Linked DNA regions of Homo sapiens: region 2 is linked to region 1. Evidence: promoter capture Hi-C in human tissues and cell types (Jung and others, 2019). All regions are on one chromosome and are shown on one strand. Each heading gives the region's core, a stretch centred on a gene start or on the middle of the fragment in contact. The rest is flanking DNA. Distances are from core to core; before and after follow the strand shown.

Region 1 (3,602 bases), core at 899-3,398:
AAAATTGTAAACACTTTTCAACTTGGACAACTAATCAATATGGAGATTATGATAATGCGTTTCATATTTGAAATACGTTTGAACTTGAAAAATAAAATATAATGGGCCACAAATAACTTTTATATTCACAGATGTCATAACACAACTATTTTTTACTTACCCTGTTGTCTCTGAGAAACATTTGAAATGACTATTATTTTATTTAAGCTAATACATACAAGTAAACAATACAATTTAAACTAAACCGGAAACGTAAAATTCAAACTGTAGTTTTCAGAAGGATCCCAGCAAGTGTTTAAATACATACATAAGTGCTTCTTTGTGTATCATTAGTTTGTTTTTCTTAAGTAGGTAATTCCAGTGCAGGTGAGGATGAAGACCTAGCCGATGTGTTTCAAGTTCATAAAAGACCTGTAAAAGTAGCATCGTGTTAAAACTGTAGCAATATTAATCTTGCTAAGTCAATACTGATGTTTGTAAACAATTCCTGTAACCTTGCATTTTATTTTTACAGTATATTAAAACATTACTCTTAACATTCGTCTGTCACTTCCTTCCCACAGGTGACCTATGGCTTTTTCCCCCCTAGAAAGGGCAGATTCTTTGCAAAACCATACTGAGTTGAACAAAACAATTATTAAAATCCTAAGAACAAAACCATGGAGAACATTTCCACCAAAGGGCTAAAACCAAACAGAAAAAGGAATATGTAACACTGTTCTTGCCTTCAAGACATGTACTGTCAGGTTAAACTTAAATCGATTCCACACACCCTTTTCTGGAAAAAAAATAAAACAAAATATTGCTTAAGAAAGCACTCTCCTTGTTTTTCTTTCTCCTGCTCCAGTTTCCAGGAAAACTTAAAAGTGTTATCTTTGTTTTCTCGTTATCATTATTATTGCTGCAAGATTGTTTTCAAAATTTAATCAATATGCTTTGCACACTGCTTTTGTCTTATGCTTTGTCTTGTTCAGTATTTAGTAGAGAGTTCATAATGTCTAAGTATTCGGGTAAAACTGCAAGTCAAAGGATGACAAAGTTTTAAAAATCTGTTTATCTATGGTTTTGTATTTTTCCAAAGAAACTACAATTTTCACCTGATTTCTGCATCCATTTTCATATCGCTTGAACAGGTTATATTTTTCCAACAACAACAAAAAGACCCGTTGCGAACAACTAGAAATATTTGGAAGTTTTGATATTTTGTCTTTCTCTTCTTTTTGATCACGGTAGTGATGGGAGAATAAACTTAAGTCAGAGATATTTACTGAGAGAAAGAGAGTAAGAACACACACAAAGGGAAAGAAAGCAGAAAAAACTTTACAAGTGCAAACTCAGTAGGAAACATTTTAGGAAATAAAAATGTTCCCCCTCTTTCCCTTGTTCAATTTCCATCCCCACAGAGGAAAAACAGAATACTTACAAGTTAGCATCTGCGTATTTATCAGTGTATGTGTGTTTTCTCTCTTCTCTGGGCTTGGATACTTTGAGCTAATTTGGAAGTGCCCGTTTGGTTGCCCACAAAATGATGCTTAAGGGTCTAAAAACGCATAAATTAGGGAGCCCTACAATGGCAAAGGACGGTCATTGTACCTCCTCTCTTTATGCGCTCTTACGGTGGGACCCAAGAGCCTTTTTTTTTTTTTTTAACACTTTAGGTGATGGAGCGAATGAGGGGCTGATAACTGGAGAGGACGAAGCAAGCCCCCGCAACACCCTCCCCCCAAACTTAGCAGCACGTTCCCCATTCCGCAATTATACCGGACTTTGGTGCGAAGTCACTTTAGAAAACTGGGATCTGGAAGGGGCCAGGCGCGGAGTCCATGTCTAGCCTCGACGCCAGCCTCCGAGTTTCTATTTCTGGTGCTCGAGGGCTGGGGTAACGGCCGCGGATGGAGGAGCGAAGGATGGGAAAAGCAAAGGATGGGAAAAGCAAAGATGGGAAAAGCAACGGGGAGTGATCTTTCCAAGAAACACCCAACTGCCCCTTTTACCTTTTTTTGCCTCCATTATGGGGCGGGGGTTGGGGGGGCGAGAGAAAAAGATGTCAATGACCATTGTTTGCTCGTTTGGGATGTTGCTCCGCCCCCCGAGTCTGTCGTAAACCTGGCGCCGGACTAAAATAAACCCCAGATCCCGCAGCCCGGGGGGCTCGCCGAGCCGCCGACTCCTCGTCACAGGCTCAGCTGCCGCGGCCGAGGTGGCGGCGACGAGCGGCCGCCGCGTCCTGCCGGCGCGCGCCCCAGGCCCCCCTACCTGGCTGCCCGCCGAGCCATGTCGTTGAGCCCAAAGCACACGACGCCCTTCTCCGTGTCCGACATCCTGAGCCCCATCGAGGAGACCTACAAGAAGTTCAGCGGCGCCATGGACGGCGCGCCACCCGGCCTGGGGGCGCCCCTGGGGGCCGCGGCCGCCTACCGCGCGCCGCCACCTGGGCCCTCCTCGCAGGCGGCGACCGTGGCGGGCATGCAGCCTTCTCACGCCATGGCGGGTCACAACGCGGCGGCCGCGGCGGCGGCGGCAGCAGCTGCGGCGGCGGCGGCCGCCACCTACCACATGCCGCCCGGCGTCTCGCAGTTCCCGCACGGCGCCATGGGCAGCTACTGCAACGGCGGCCTGGGCAACATGGGCGAGCTGCCCGCCTACACGGACGGCATGCGGGGCGGCGCGGCCACCGGCTGGTACGGCGCCAACCCGGACCCACGCTACTCGTCAAGTGAGAGGGGCCAGGAGCGCGGGGCTGCGGGCGGCTCAGGCGTTTCCCGCCACAGCCGAGGGGCGCGGGGGCGCGGGACGGGGTGCGCGCGGCTTAGGAGGTCCTGGGGCCGAGCGGGCGCGCGGGGCGTCCTGGGACGCGGCCCGGGACGCGCGGGGTTTCTGGGGACCCTGGGCGCGCGGGGGGTCCTGGGACCTGACCGGGAACGCGCGCGGCGTCCTGGGACCCGTTGAGGGCGTGGTGCTCTGGGACCCGCCGAGGGCGCGCGGGGCGTGCTGGGGCCGGAGGCCGCGGCGGTCAGGGGGTCTTGGGATTCAGCGAGGGCCCGGCGGCGTCGCGGCCGCGGCGTGAAGAGAGCGGCGGCTGGACCGGCTCCCGGCGGGCCTGGAGCTCACTCGCCTTCCCCCTTGGGACTCTTCCCCAGTCTCCAGGTTCATGGGGCCGTCGGCGGGCGTGAATGTGGCCGGCATGGGGTCGCTGACCGGCATCGCGGACGCCGCCAAGTCGCTGGGCCCGCTGCACGCGGCGGCGGCGGCAGCCGCTCCGCGAAGGAAGCGCCGCGTGCTCTTCTCGCAGGCGCAGGTCTACGAGCTGGAGCGGCGCTTCAAGCAGCAGAAGTACCTGTCGGCGCCCGAGCGCGAGCACCTGGCCAGCATGATCCACCTGACGCCCACGCAGGTCAAGATCTGGTTCCAGAACCACCGGTACAAGATGAAACGGCAGGCCAAGGACAAGGCGGCGCAGCAGCTGCAGCAGGAGGGCGGCCTGGGCCCGCCGCCGCCTCCGCCGCCGTCCCCGCGCCGCGTGGCGGTGCCTGTGCTGGTCAAGGACGGCAAGCCGTGCCAGAACGGCGCCAGCACGCCCACCCCCGGCCAGGCCGGTCCGC
Region 2 (3,286 bases), core at 273-2,772, 310 kb before region 1:
ATATAGATAGATAATGAATGATTATTTCTACATTCCTGTTCGAACACAAACAGTTGCATGCCAGCTTGAGAAATCATTGCTAATGGTGTCCCCAAGTTATCTGATTATCTTTTATTAGAACCTTTAAAGAAGTTGGAGGACCACAAAATTAAATTATTAATTTAATAACTAGAGTAACAAATTATTGCTGTAGCTTTTAAAAACAGGTGGGATATTACATAATAGGAAACTGATATAATGGTAAAAGGGACTTATGCCAGCACCATTCAATGACCCTGTATTTCTGAAAAGGAAAGTGTCTTCTAAAGAAAATCAATCACCAGTGAGGCTTAATGTTAAAATCAGCTTCCCCGCAACTTCCACCACAAATTAAGACAGGTAGTTTAGAATTAGGAACTGTGTGTGTTACCTTTGGCTTATTATCTGCACTTTATAATTTGTGTCTAATGTAGAGCTTAAAATGCCTCCAGGGCAAAGTGGCTCTATTGAAAACAAATGCATTCCTCTGAAGACTGTGGGTCTTTTTTCTAAGTCTTCCTTCTCCTTAAGATGAACCCAGTGAAATATTTCAAATCTGTGGTTATACATTTTTAATTCAAAAGAACCTGCTTATTTAAGTGATTTGTGTAATGTGGTAAATTTTATTTTGATTTCGATTTCGACAGATAACCTCAGTTGTTGAGAAAACAGGTTGATTGGAGGCTGAGGATGAGTGAAGCGCTCATCTGCGACCCCTTAACTATCCTTAAACATAAAGCTTAAAGGAGTTCTTACTCTCAACTTTTAACATTTCCTTCACTTGGATTTTTCTATAAATGAGTAAATGATAGTATCCTATTTAAATTAAACTTAAAGTTTAAAAGAGCTCTAAATCCCAATTTTTATAAATTTTCCTTATTTGGATTTGTCTGTAACTAGGCAAGTGAACATTATCCTAATATCCCAGGATGTCTGTGCTCTAGGAAAGGTAGAAATAGAAAAAGTATTTTTCTCCCTTCATTTCACTGTTGTGGATGGCATCTTTATTTCCTTCCTGCCCCCCACCCCACCCCCACTCCCCAGGGCATGCCCTCCTATCTTATCAAGACTACTTGGAAATAGCACTTTTTGCCTGGGCAGCACCAAGGAGGATGGCCCTCCTGTCCCCTGCCTGCCCACTGCCACCTGCCACTACATCCACCTCGCTTCCAGCCCTGGACAGGTGGAGGCAAAGCAGCTAGTAAAAATCCTTTTATAATCTGGGAACTCCACGCTGTCCCCCAGGTTTGTGCCTTGTCTCTTTCTCTGCTGGGGCTGGGACGACCTGGGGTGACCCTTTCCTTTCCCAGGTTGGTTGAAGTTGCAAATTTCTGGTGCTCAGAACCTAAGCACTGGCAAGTTTGAACTTAGCAAATCAAGCCATTCCTTTTAACAACAAAGAAAATGAGGACTCAAGGGCTGGTGAGCTTTTCCCAAGTTAAAGGAAAAACTGGAACCCTCCTGGTTGTGTGAGAAGATCCCCCTCACACTGCTGACTGTCAGTGAAATACCTAAAATCTGTTCCTCGACTTTTCAGGAAGTGGACTTATGGAAAAGGAAGAGAAGGAGGAAGCGGAAAAGGAGGCAAGACTCCCAGGCACATTTTCCACAGAAAGAGAGAACCCCCCCACCCGCCCACCACCACCACCACCCACAACCACAGAAAGCTCCTGAGCCTGGAGTAAAGGACACTGATTCACATGGCCTCTACTTTCCCACAGTGTGTATTTAAGAAAAAGAATCCAAACGCCTTTTTTTCTCTCTAAGGAACCTGGAAAAAACAGATGGGCAGTGGGGCAGAGACGGGAAGGGTCTGGGGATGGAGGTTAGGTGCCACTAGCAAGTCCAACCCCACCTAAAGGGCTTAGGTGCCAGAACAGGTCTACAGAAAGGTGAGCCTGGAGGGTGCCTGCTAGACGTGTCTCTGGATGGAGAAACAGAAACCCAGAAAGAAGCAGGAACTTGGTCGAAGGTGCCAGAACCGGATCCAAACCCACGCGTCCTGTGTGCCAGAAGGACCTCCTTTCACCTCTCCCATCATAAGTGGAGGGGACAGTCTTGGGGCCAGTCTCTCTCAACCTCGGGTACCTTTATAGGGACACCTGTCAGAACTAATCTGCTCCAAGAAGCTACATGCTCAAAGGTTAACCCAGAAGAAGGGTTCATGCCCAGGACCCACCTCTTCCCCACCCGCTCTCCCTTTTCCCAGGCTCACACCCGCTCCCCAGTACCCTTCCTAACCCTTCCAGCATCCACCCGCCCCACTCCCTGCGCTCCTCACCTTCTCGGCTGGGATGCTTGAAGGTCATTGCTGCCGCGAGTTCCCCGCCATGCACAGCTACGCCGGCCCCGGGGGGCGCCAGAGGAGGACCTTGCGCAGGCGGCCACGGCGGGCCCGGGGCGAGGTAGCCGCCGCCCGGGGCGCTGTACACGCCGTGCTGGTTGGAGGCCGGGTAGGCGCAGGCGGGGAGAAAGCCGCCCACGGCAGAGAGGGTGGAGGCCGACTGTGGGGATAGAGAGGGACCGTCAGCAGCAGAAAATCCTGCCTTCTCTAGCCCACGCCATCACTGAGACGGGGGTTTTCGTCCATTATCGCTCCCCCACGTCCTGTGCCCATCCATTATCCCCATGCGAGGCCTGGCCTCTAAATTTCCTAGTCAGGACTCTTTGGCAAAGTGATTTCTAAGAATTCACTCAAACTGTTACAAATAACGATGTGAAGGGGTCATGGTATTCATATCGGGATTTAGAGAAAGAAGGCCCTTGACTGTGGATTCGTCATCTGGAGTTCCAGCTTTTTTTAGCTAAGCTATCTTGGCAAAGGCAAGTCAACCCCTCTAAAGTCAGACTCTCCCAAACTAGTACGCTTGAGGAAAGGACAGAAAGGACGCTTGCTAGCCGGCTGCCAGATACAACCATCTCTCTGCCTGGAAATTTTTTCTTTTCTTTCTCTCTCTTTTTCCCCACTTGCCCAAACCTTCTGCTTCCCTACTTAAGGTCACGGCCTCACGTGCCTCCTGGTTACCTGAGTGTATTTAATGTCTGCCTCTAAGGCAGGTTTCTCTAGCCCATTCACTGCGGGGGTGGCGGGGAAGGCCGTGCGGTTCACGCCGGCCCAGTCTTCCATCTTGGGAGAGTAAGCGGTGCCTTCGCTCCCAGCCAGGGCCCCTGCAGGAGAGAGAGGACGGATTAAAAGGTGCCTCCGAATCTGCCCTGGGCACACGTGTGGCCAACCACCCAATTTGTATCTGAAGACACGGCCAGGGGT

The links. Contacts are between HindIII fragments. The study calls those that stand out against the background at their distance.
Region 2: a contact is called between a fragment that was not itself captured here and the fragment with the promoter of NKX2-4 in region 1, in 1 of the 25 tissues and cell types used here (mesendoderm cells).

What each region holds. Positions count from the first base shown.
Region 1 is chr20:21,396,072-21,399,673 of GRCh38, reverse strand. It overlaps NKX2-4 (NK2 homeobox 4), which reads left to right and starts at 2,148. Exons shown (of 2, transcript NM_033176.2): 1 at 2,148-2,716; 2 at 3,141-3,602. The coding sequence starts at 2,275. LOC105372558 (a long non-coding RNA gene) reads right to left here and starts at 1,740. Exons shown (of 4, transcript XR_001754528.1): 1 at 1,098-1,740; 2 at 308-411. The HindIII fragment of the contact is 9,137 bases long and covers 1-3,602 here.
Region 2 is chr20:21,708,458-21,711,743 of GRCh38, reverse strand. It overlaps PAX1 (paired box 1), which reads right to left. Exons shown (of 5, transcript NM_001257096.2): 3 at 3,044-3,186; 4 at 2,300-2,522. Among named protein-coding and RNA genes, the nearest start is that of PAX1, 4.4 kb to the right of the region's middle. The HindIII fragment of the contact is 4,854 bases long and covers 1-3,286 here.